3 separate regions of the Homo sapiens genome follow, and regions 2 and 3 are each linked to region 1. Evidence: promoter capture Hi-C in 16 types of primary human blood cells and fetal thymus (Javierre and others, 2016). All regions are on one chromosome and are shown on one strand. Each heading gives the region's core, a stretch centred on a gene start or on the middle of the fragment in contact. The rest is flanking DNA. Distances are from core to core; before and after follow the strand shown. Region 1 holds the start of LCE2C (late cornified envelope 2C). Region 2 holds the start of LCE3C (late cornified envelope 3C). Region 3 holds the start of LCE3D (late cornified envelope 3D).

What was found. Contacts are between HindIII fragments. The CHiCAGO score rates a contact against its expected background, and 5 or more counts as called.
Region 2: the fragment with the promoter of LCE3C here is called in contact with the fragment with the promoter of LCE2C in region 1 in 2 of 17 cell types (activated CD4 T cells and naive CD8 T cells); the score reaches 6.8 in activated CD4 T cells.
Region 3: the fragment with the promoter of LCE3D here is called in contact with the fragment with the promoter of LCE2C in region 1 in 11 of 17 cell types (neutrophils, total CD4 T cells, activated CD4 T cells and 8 more); the score reaches 19.5 in neutrophils.

What each region holds. Positions count from the first base shown.
Region 1 is chr1:152,673,364-152,676,697 of GRCh38, reverse strand. LCE2C (late cornified envelope 2C) reads right to left here and starts at 1,419. Exons shown (of 2, transcript NM_178429.5): 1 at 1,370-1,419; 2 at 129-703. The coding sequence starts at 682. The coding sequence ends at 350. The HindIII fragment of the contact is 8,836 bases long and covers 1-3,280 here.
Region 2 is chr1:152,598,677-152,602,338 of GRCh38, reverse strand. LCE3C (late cornified envelope 3C) reads right to left here and starts at 2,105. Exons shown (of 2, transcript NM_178434.3): 1 at 2,055-2,105; 2 at 1,253-1,632. The coding sequence starts at 1,607. The coding sequence ends at 1,323. The HindIII fragment of the contact is 2,575 bases long and covers 1,065-3,639 here.
Region 3 is chr1:152,578,631-152,582,234 of GRCh38, reverse strand. It overlaps LCE3D (late cornified envelope 3D), which reads left to right and starts at 1,719. Exons shown (of 2, transcript NM_032563.2): 1 at 1,719-1,766; 2 at 2,278-2,854. The coding sequence starts at 2,299. The coding sequence ends at 2,577. The HindIII fragment of the contact is 6,032 bases long and covers 1-1,970 here.

The sequences.
Region 1 (3,334 bases), core at 170-2,669:
CAGAGCAGCTTTTCATGTATCACCTACTCATGTCCTGTCCTAGCCTCATGAAGAAAATTACTCTGAGGCCCTGACCTTTGGAGGACATTTGAAATCTCAGAAGAGAAGAGAATGACCAAGACATTTAGTGAGTCAGAGATCAGAGCTTTATTATAACATGAGGTAAAGGAGGAAAAGAAGACTTGCAATTGGGGTGTTACATCAAGCACGAAGTTCTTCCAGGAAAGCCCCATGAGTCTTTGTGGTCTCTGCCAACCAATGAATGGAATGAGAGGAAGTGGAAAGAGTATCCATCAGGCCGTAGCAGGTTCTTGGCCATTCAGTCCCAAGAGCTCTTCTGTAGCCCAGGTCAGCAGCAGCCCCCAGAGCTGTGGCAGCAGCCAGAGCCCCCAGAAGGTTCACTCTCACAGCAGTCGGGGCTCTGGTGCCGGCGCCGGTGGAAGAGACGGGGCCTGTGGTGGCTCAGGGAGCAGCCACCAGCCCCAGAGCTGCAGCAGCCCCCAGAGCTGGGACCACAGCAGCTCCCAGAGCTGGGACCACAGCAAGAAGAGACTGCAGGGAAACATGGAGCTGGGCACTGTGGTGGGCATTTGGGGGGACACTTAGGTGGACATTTTGGGGTACACTTGGGAGGACACTTGGGAGGGGGCTGGCACTGCTGCTGGTTTTGCTGGCAAGACATGCTGGCAGGAGTTTAGTCAACCTGAAAGATAATAATGAAACTCTTTAAATATTTCAAACCAAGGATCATATTATACCTCTTCTAAAATCAATGCATGTGTAGAAGAAGAATGATATTTAGATAATACAATCACATCAGTAACCTGAAAGAAACAACTTGAATCTTTCCTCTAGATAAAAGTACGTAGATAAAAAATCAACAGAATGAGCTTCTTACTCTTCCTTTCAGGGGAAACTGCGATTGCTCTATCCTCACAAGCCCGAATAGAGTATTCACAGCTCCCTGAAGTACCTATTCCTTTAATACAAGCCCTAAGGACAAGCTGGGTGTTGCAGGACATACCAAGGGGTCCTCTGGAAAATATTTTGCAATGAAACCTCCAGATAAAAGAGCCTGGCTTGAAGTATTTGCCAGTTTCCATGGTGTAAATATGCCCAACACAGCAGTTTTGAAGTTACCAACATGAAGTCACTGAACACAGAATTGGAAAAGATGTGCACAGTTAGCTTTCCCCACCTATATGAGCTCCGGTAGGCCTCAGAGCCTCAACAGATTCGAGGCAGGCTGAGTCCCATTCCTGCTCAGTATGGCAGAACACAAGCACACAACTCTTTCTCCAGCCTACCTCCATCCTCCCCATCCCTCTGCCTTGCTCATACCCCTCTGGTATCCCAGGTTGCCACTCACCCTGGTCACACGCAGGAGCACAGACACGTCCCTGGGGAGTCAGAGCAGATGAGATGCTGAAGCTGGATGTGTCTTTTATAGGGCCCAGGCTTGGCTCTGGAAAGAGCAGGAGGTGGCTCTTGCACAACCAGGCACACGCTGGGTCATTCCTGACATTCTCCTGCCTCTTAGTCCCTGCAATCCAAAGAGGCCTCAGGAGCTTCCAGGACTCCTCTCTGGGGCTGCAGTCTAGAGAGGCTGTAGCCAGTCAGAGCCTCCACCAGGTGGGAACCCTAAAGAGTTAACTTAGGGTACCCAAGGGACCCACACCTGGACAAGATTCTGTTCCCTGCATTTTTTTAATGCATGTCCTCTGAGGAAACATCAGTTCTGAGCCACAGCTTTCCCTGACCTTGTGGAAATGTTCCATTATGACTCCCTCCACCCTGAGCAGTTTCTCTTCCATGTCCTGCTGTGGATCCAGCCATCCCAGAGGGCTTCTACAGCCTTGGCTTTTTCTAGGCATCCCTCCCTTGCCTAGGCTCTCAGCCCTTCCTCCTGGCCTCTGTGTTTCTGCTTTTCCTCCGACTCACCATGGCAAGCAGATTCGGTGGATTAAATCTGAGTTGATTCTGTCACCTAAAGCAAGGAGAATGATTGAGAATAAACAATTCCCTCTAAAATCTAAACATTTCCTTCAGTCAGAGGACTTGTATTGAATGTGCTACTGGAATCAGAAAACTTGCATATGATAACTGGGTAATCTCTGAAAGTTGCTGTAACAATTATCAATAATTGCTAGAGTATTACTATGATACTCACTGTGAGTATCAGTTCTCACATATAATGCCCATTATAAACCTATCAGTGAGATATACCTATCTCACTGAGCTGTTTGTAATATAAAGTGAGAAGCAAGAAAGAGCTAAGTATGACATTTTGTGCCTGATAGACCCTTAATAAATATATGTTTAATAGAAAAACTAATGCCATGTATTGGATACTTGCCCCGGTCTTATGTGTCATTAATTGCCCATATAGAGCCCTTACCCTCAGAGAGCTTAACTCCACCAGACACTTAGATTATTTGAAACCTGTCTTGGGAAGTAGACATCATTTCTTGGGGCTCCTATGCAGAGGGAACTCCTTTCCTACCAGGAAGTAGAGGGTCAGCCAGGAATCTAGTTATTCAGAGTTCTGATTCAGGGTTGCACTAGACAGAGTTACCCAGTCATTTATTCATTTAGTTTAAACAGATACATTGAGTGTGAACCTTGAAAACATTACACTACGTGAAAGAAGCCAGTCACAAAAGACTGCATATTGTATGATGTTATTTATATGAAATGTGTAGAGTAGGCAAATCTCTGGAAATAGAAAGGGGATGAGGCTTTAGCCAGTTACAGCCTCTCCCAGGCTGGACCCCTGAAGAGCTGACTCAGGGCATCCGAGGAACAAGAGCCTGGATGAGATTCTGTTCCCTGTATCTCCTTTTATGTTTATGCCTGTCCTCTGAGAAATATCAGTGGCTTCCAGGTGCTTTAGCGGGCTGGGAGATATTGAGAAGTTACTGCCAATGGATACAGGTTTTCTTTGTGAAGTAATGAAAATGTTCTAAAATTATGGTGGTGATTGTCCAACTCTGTGAATATACTGAAAACCATTGAATTTACACTTTAAACAAATGAACTACAAATATGTTAATTACATCTCAATAAAGGTGTTAAAAATTAGAATTGAAAAAAATAGATATTCACACCTCTGATTAAAACAGAAACAGACTGTGCCTTCACATTGCCTAATGCCTACTTAGTGGGGGAGGGGAGGATGCGGAGAAAGCATAGTTTCCCATTGTCAGCTTCTAACTGAGGGATTCTGTTCTCCTAGTTATGCAATCCTATTATCAGATCTGATTCCTGCTCTCAGGAAGCTTTTACCTGAAGGATAAAGTAAGTCAACAGTGTGGTCAGAGCAGTGAATTCAAAA
Region 2 (3,662 bases), core at 856-3,355, 75 kb after region 1:
CGAATTTCATTTTAATTGTAGATAAATTTCTCATTCAATTAATCTCTAATATTAAAATAAGTACCTTTTTCTAGATATTTTTCAAGATAAATCAGTCAGGCTGTAATCAAACTTTATACATATTTAAATTAAATTATAATTGTCAACAAAAATTAAATTATGTTCACTATTGGGGTTATAATTTTTGTCTTCTTATTCTGCCTGACAGCCCACCCTAGCAAACTGAAATAGTGATGCCTGTGGGAGCATAAAGGCACTGGGCCGTAGGAAAGAGGGTGGCTCTGAATGTGGACTGGGGAGAGGGTAGGTTTAGGTATTGATATTCTCAGCAGCATTTTCCTGCCTCCAGCACATGACCCCTGTCTCTGTCTTGGAAGTATTTTCAGGAATTATCCCTTGAACTACTCTTGGGTGGCCACTTTACTCTTAATGTTAAGGGTCCCTTCAGTGGCCTCTGTCCTGCAAAGAGACATTTAAAAGAGATAGACCAAGCACTTTCTCATGGTAGCCAGATTGTGGGGCTGAATATAGCTGAGTGACCACTTTTGCTTCTTAGGAGTAAAATCTGTAGTCATTGGGATACAACAACAGAGGAGTAAGTTCTGAAGTTTCAGAACACCCCAGAACTGTAATGGGGGGCCCTTTCTGTTCCTATGGAATGCAGCAGATGTCCACAAATGAGTTTCTCCACAGCCCCAACCCTGATGCCTGGCTTGGGAGGCTCCATACCCATCCTGGTGATGGTGCCCATCAACCTTTCCTCCCCTCCATGAGGGGCTCCCAATTCCTCGCTCCTCTGTTTGTCATCAGAGCAAAAACTACACAGGTCTGAGGCTGAGCAGGTGTCCTGTGATGACAGAGGGTTGGCTGGGAGAACACAGCCCAGTTACTTGCCCGAGCATGAGGTCAGCTCTCTGGGGTCACCTCTACCAGGGGTAACACACTTAAATCTCTGGCTTTCTAAGGTCCTGCGAGTTCGGGTGACAGGAGAACCTGGCCTGGATGGATAAATCCTGGATAGTTTCCTAACAAGTGAGACACCGTGGTAATGAGAACAAGAAGCTTTATTTTTTGGCAGGGTTAGGCACAGGGAACTGCCAATCCTTGGCAGGGGCAGGGATGAGGGAACTGTGAGATCCTATACACCAGACAGGAAGCACCTTCTGGGGACAGCTTGGATACTCAACAGGAACACCCCCAGCTCAGCTTGTGAAAGCCAGAACAAGGTATCTGGAAAAGCATGCATCAGGATGGAGCTTTTCCTGGGCCTTTGGGATCCTTGTTTCCTCCAAAGATCACTTGTCTCATCATCAGGATCCAGGTCAGCAGCAGCCCCCAGAGCCATGGCCACGGCAGGAGCCCCCGCCTTGCTGACCACTGCCCCTGTCACAGGAGTTGGATCTCTGGCGCCGGCATTGATGGGACCTGAAGTGCCTGTGGTGGCTCAGGCAGCAGCCACTTTCAGAACTGGGGCCACAGCCCCCGGAGCTTAGAGCACAGTCAGAAGAGGGTGGAGGCAGACACTGTGCTGGGCTCTTTGGGGGACACTTGGGTGAGGGACAACTGGGAGGGGGCTGGCACTGCTGCTGGTTTTGCTGGCAGGACATCTTTGCAGGAATGCAGGAATTTTACCTTGAACAGAATAATAGAAACATTTGAGCACAGAACCCTCAGACCATCTCCTTATTTTTGGGTTTGTCACACACTGACCCCCTTGATGAAGCCACTTTCTAAGCCAAGATCTGTAGGAGAGAAATGGGAATGTAGTAGAGGGAACCCTACACATGCATTTGGATAAAGCAACCTTAAAAATATAAAATGGATCTATGTGCATTCCTGACAACATGCTCCAAACAAGAATGTGAAGGAATCCTAAGGTCCTGCGGGTTTTGCAGCTCACGGGTCCCTGACATGTGCTTTAGAGGCTCCTTATTCTCCATCACCTCCCCCACTGCTGCCCACTGTGGGCTTCTTTCTGATGGTTCCATTTCAGTTCTGGGCCTCTCTTTCCCAAACACTCCCAGCTGAGGATCTGTCCCCTGCTGGCCACTCACCAGATGCAGAGGAGGTAGGAGAAGAAGGCTGCTCCTAAGGATGCTGTGGATGAGAAGCCCAGGGTAGGAGCCCTTTTATCCCGTGCAGTGTACACGATGATGCACAACCTGAGTATGCTGCTGTTTTCACAACCAGGGAGGTGACAGCACCAGACACTTCCCAGTTGCCTGCTGCCTCAGCATGTGCCTAAAGGTGTAATAAGATGACCCCTGTGTCTTCCTGGGCACATGCCTAAAGATTTAATAAGATGGAAGCAGGATGTCCTCGTGACTGCAGAAGTACTTCCCACTCTGGTCCACCCTGTACCTCCTGCCCACCTCTGCTTGTTCATTCCAAGCTCTGTTCGTTTTACTTCTTTCAACAGTAGTAGTATGGAGATGTATCGGACATATTTCTTCCATTGAGCACCTTACAGCCTAAATGGACTATCACTCAGAAAAGTAAATATATTTGATCTGACAGAATAAGCACTATCACAGAAGTGTTTAAAAAGACTTCAAGCCTAAGACCACAGCCTTTGTAAGTCAGTCCTCTATTGCACTGATGGTCCCAAAGGGTGATGGTTTTCAGGTGTTCTCCAGGAATGACAGCTGGACACACTTACCATTTTTTGTAATAAGACCACTCAAAGTCTACTCTTTTAGAAATTTTCAAAAATACAATACATTGTTATAGTCATCATGCTGTACAATAAATCTCCTGAATTTATTACTCCGGTCTTATTGAAATTTTGTATCCTTTGACCAACATCTCCCCAGTTCTTCCCCACTCCCCAACCCAACCCCTGATAATGATCATTTCTACTTCCACGCACTCGACTTTTTAGGATTCCACATAAAAGTGAGATCACGAATATTTGTCTTTCTATATCTGGCTTATTTTACTTAGCATAATATCTTTCAGGTTTATACATGTTGTCACAAATTAGAAACTTCCCTTTTTATATAAGGCTGAGTTGTATTCCATTACACTTATATAACATGTTTTTTAATCCATTTACCCACTAAAGGACACTTAGGTTGATTCTATATCTTGACTGTAGTAAACAATGCTGCAATAAATTTGGGAGTGCAGATATCTCTTCAAAATACTGATTTCATTTCCTTTAGCTATATACCCAGTAGTGGGATTGTTGAATCACATAGTAGTTTCATTTTTAATTTTTTAAGGAAACTTCACACTGTTTTCCACAATGGCCATACTACTTTACTTTCCCACTAATACTGTAAAAAGGTTCCCTTTTCTCCAAATCTTTGCCAATACTTGTTATTTCTTGTCTTTTGATAATAGCCATTCTAGCAGATGTGAGGTGATATTGTGTTTTTAACTTGCATTTCCCTGATTATTAGCGATGTTGAGCACATTTTTATATATACTGTAGGCCATTTGTATGGCTTCTTTTGGGAAACTCCCTGTGCCCACTTTTTTGATTGGTTTATGTGTTTTCTTGCTACTGAGTTGTTTGAGTTTCTAAAATATTTTGAATATTAACTCCTTATCAGATGTGTAGTTCACAGATATTTTATCACATACTGTATGTTGTCTCTTCACTCCATTAACTGTTTGCTTTATTTTGCAGAAGCTTTTTACTTTGATGCAACCACATT
Region 3 (3,604 bases), core at 470-2,969, 95 kb after region 1:
ACATACAACAGTTCTATCACCTCAAAATATTCCCTCATCTGCTTATTAAATCAGCCTCTCCCTCATACCAGCCCTTGGCAACCACTGACCTATTTTCAGTTCTTATAATTTTGCCTTTTCAAGAATGCCCTATAATTAAAATTATATAATATGTAGTATGTAAAGTCTGACTTCTTTTGCATTTGAGATTCATCCCTGTTGTTTTATATATCAGTAGTTGATTCCTTTTTTATTGCTAAGTAGCCTTCCATTGCATAAATATACCATTTTTAAAACTCTATTCATCAGTTGAAGATCTTGTGGGGTTCTTCAAATTCAGGGCAGTTATGAATAAAGCCACTATAAATGTTGGGCTACAGGTTTTTCTGTGAACATACAACTATATTTCTTTTGGCTAAATATCTAAGAATAGGATTTCTGGGGCAAATTGTAAGTTGTATGTTTAATTTTTTTGATAGACTGCCAACTAATGTAATTTTGCATTTCTACCAGCAATGACTTGGGCTTCTTGTTGTTCTACATCCCTCATATTACTTGATATTGTCATTTATTTCATTTTAGCCATTCCAATGTGTATAGAGTGGTATCTCACTTTGCTTTTAAATTGCATTTCTCTAATGACTGATTAGGTTGAGTATCTTTTCATGTGCTTAACTGCCACCCATATATCTTCTTTGTTAAAATGACTCTTCAAATACTTTGCCCATATTTTCTGTGTTATTACCTATTTTTGAGAATTTAAAAAACATTGGCCGGGCACAGTGGCTCTGTAATCCCACCACTTTGGGAGGCCGAGGCGGGTGGATCACAGGTCAGGAGATAGAGACCATCCTGGCTAACACAGTGAAACCCCATCTCTACTAAAAATACAAAAAAATTAGCTGGGTGTGGTGGCAGGCGCCTGTAGACCCAGCTGCTTGGGAGGCTGAGCAGGGAGAATGGCGAGAACCCGGGAGGCAGAGCTTGCAGTGAGCCAAGATCGCGCCACTGCACTTCAGTCTGGACGACAGAGCAAGACTCCGTCTCAAAAAATAAAAATAAAAAAAAAATTCTTGAACCAAGTCCTTGGTAAGATTTGTGTTTTACAATATTGTCTCCAAGTCTGTGAATTTTCTTTGCATTTGCCTAGCAGTGCCTTTTGAAAAGCAGAAGTTTTTAATTTTGATGAAGTCCTATATTTCTTTTTTGAATTGTACCTTTTTGGCATATCTGAAAAATTTTGCATAACCCAAAGTCACAAAGATTTATTATGTTTTATTGCAGAAGTTTCATAGTTTAATTTTTTAAATTATGATCTATTAATTTTTATATCTAGCATTAGGTATGATTTCTTTTACATATGGACGTCCAATTATTTCATCTCTATTTGTTGAAATGACTATTATTTCTCCAGTCATGACTCAAGAAAGAATTATGTCATACTAATTCCCAGGAAATTGTAAAGGACAGACTGTGCTCCACAGCACGTGAGTTGAAACAAGGAAGAAGGGAGGAAGAAAAGAAGCAGTGGTAGCCTCCCAGGTGAGAGGTATGTGGACAGTGATCCTGCTTCCAGGTTCAATGTCATTGGTTGGATATTATGGAAGTGCCAAAGCTACAAACCTAGTCTTGGGCGTGTGCCTTGTTGACACCTCCCCTGGTTGTGAAAGCAGCAGCATGCCCAGGCTGTGCATCACACACCGTGCACAAGATAAAAGCACTCCTGCCCTGGGCTCCTCATCCACCGTCTCCTCAGGAACAGCCTTCTCCTGCCTCCTCTGCACCTGGTGAGTGTCCAGCAGGGGATGGGACTCAACTTGGGATGTTGGAACAGAAAACTAAGGTCATAGCAGGAGAGGGAAATGGAGAGATCTGAAACAAAAGCCCGGAGAGAGGATGGCAGAGAGGGTACCAATGTGGGAACTGGGGCCAGGAGGGAGACCCTGCAGGAACTGACAGCAATTCCATGACCTGCAAAGGCCACAGAAGCTTATGATTCCTTCCCATCCTCTTTCTACTCAGGCTGGCACATGTTTCCTATGATCTCCATTCTCCAGAATGCCTTTTGTCAAAAGGGTACATTCCTAGAGGCTCTTTGGAGAAACAGAAACATGGATGCCCACTTAGACTCACAGCAATCTGTCCCTGGTGGAGAACAAAGTGAGAGGCATCTGGCATGTCCCACCAACTCCACATCAGCTTCCCTCACCTTCCTGCAGCTCTTGCCTCAGGAGGCCGCTGGTCTTAGAGACATTGGACTGTAGATTTTGGACTAACAAATGGCTTTGTTTTGTCCAGGACAACTCAACTCCTGCCAAGATGTCCTGCCAGCAGAACCAGCAGCAGTGCCAACCCCCACCCAAGTGTCCCTCACCCAAGTGTCCCCCAAAGAGCCCAGTACAGTGTCTGCCTCCAGCTTCCTCTGGCTGTGCCCCAAGCTCTGGGGGCTGTGGCCCTAGCTCCGAGGGCGGCTGCTTCCTGAACCACCACAGGCGCCACCACCGATGCCGGCGCCAGAGGCCCAACTCCTGTGACAGGGGCAGTGGTCAGCAAGGCGGGGGCTCTGGCTGCGGCCATGGCTCTGGAGGCTGCTGCTGACCTGGATCCTGATGCTGAGACAAGCGATTTTGGAGGAAACAAGAATCCCAAGGGCCCAGGAAAACCCCATCTTGATGCATGAGTTCCCAGATACCCTCTTCTGGCTTTCACAGGCTGAGCTAGGGGTTTTCCTGTGGAAGGTCTGAGCTCTCCCCAGAAGGCACTTCCTGTCTGATGTCCAGGATGTCACATGTTCCCTTACCCCTGTACCTGTGAAGGATTGGCAGTGCTTGTGCCTGACCTCATCAAAAAATAAAGCTCCTTGTCCTCATTACCACTGGTGTCTCCCTTGGCATTTCACTCTGTCTCTCCCTAGGTGGGGCTGGAAGTGTGCCCTCCTGTCTGCCCCTGACATCCAGCACCACCACAGGGAAGATGCAGAATTCTAGCTCTAGGTCTGCAAAATTCAGGAATCTGTCGAGTCCTTTTCTGCTGGAATTGTGCGGCAGTGGGGGACAGGATGTGATGAGAGGGGTTGTAGTGAGGCCTCTAACTGTCAGAAAAGAATGACTGAAATGTGATTGTCCTCTCATAATGGACTCCCCAGTCGTAGGAGGAGCTAGCTACTAGATGTTTCTGACATCTCTATTACAAAACAGTGAAGATGTAGCAGGCAATTATCAAAAAAATAGGCAGAATTAGCATTTCTTCTAAAGGGGTAAATTTGACTCTCCAAGGGACATTTTTTGTTGTCAAAACTTAGAGGTAGAAAGAGAATTTCTGGCATCTAGTGGGTAGAGGCCAGGGATGCAGCTAAGCCTCCTACTAAGCATAGAACAGCCCCACAGTGGAGAATTATCTGCCCCAAGAAGTCCAATAATTGCAAGGCTGAAAACCTTTAGACTACAATTAAAAGATGGGTAAAGAAAAACATGGCCTCAGCTGTCTGTAATCCTAGCACTTTGGGAGGCTGAGGCAAGTGGATTACCTGAGGTCAGGAGTTTGAGACTGCCTGACCAACATGATGAAACCACATGTTATATGGTTAGTCTCTACTAAAAATACAAAAAAAAAAAATAGCTTGGCA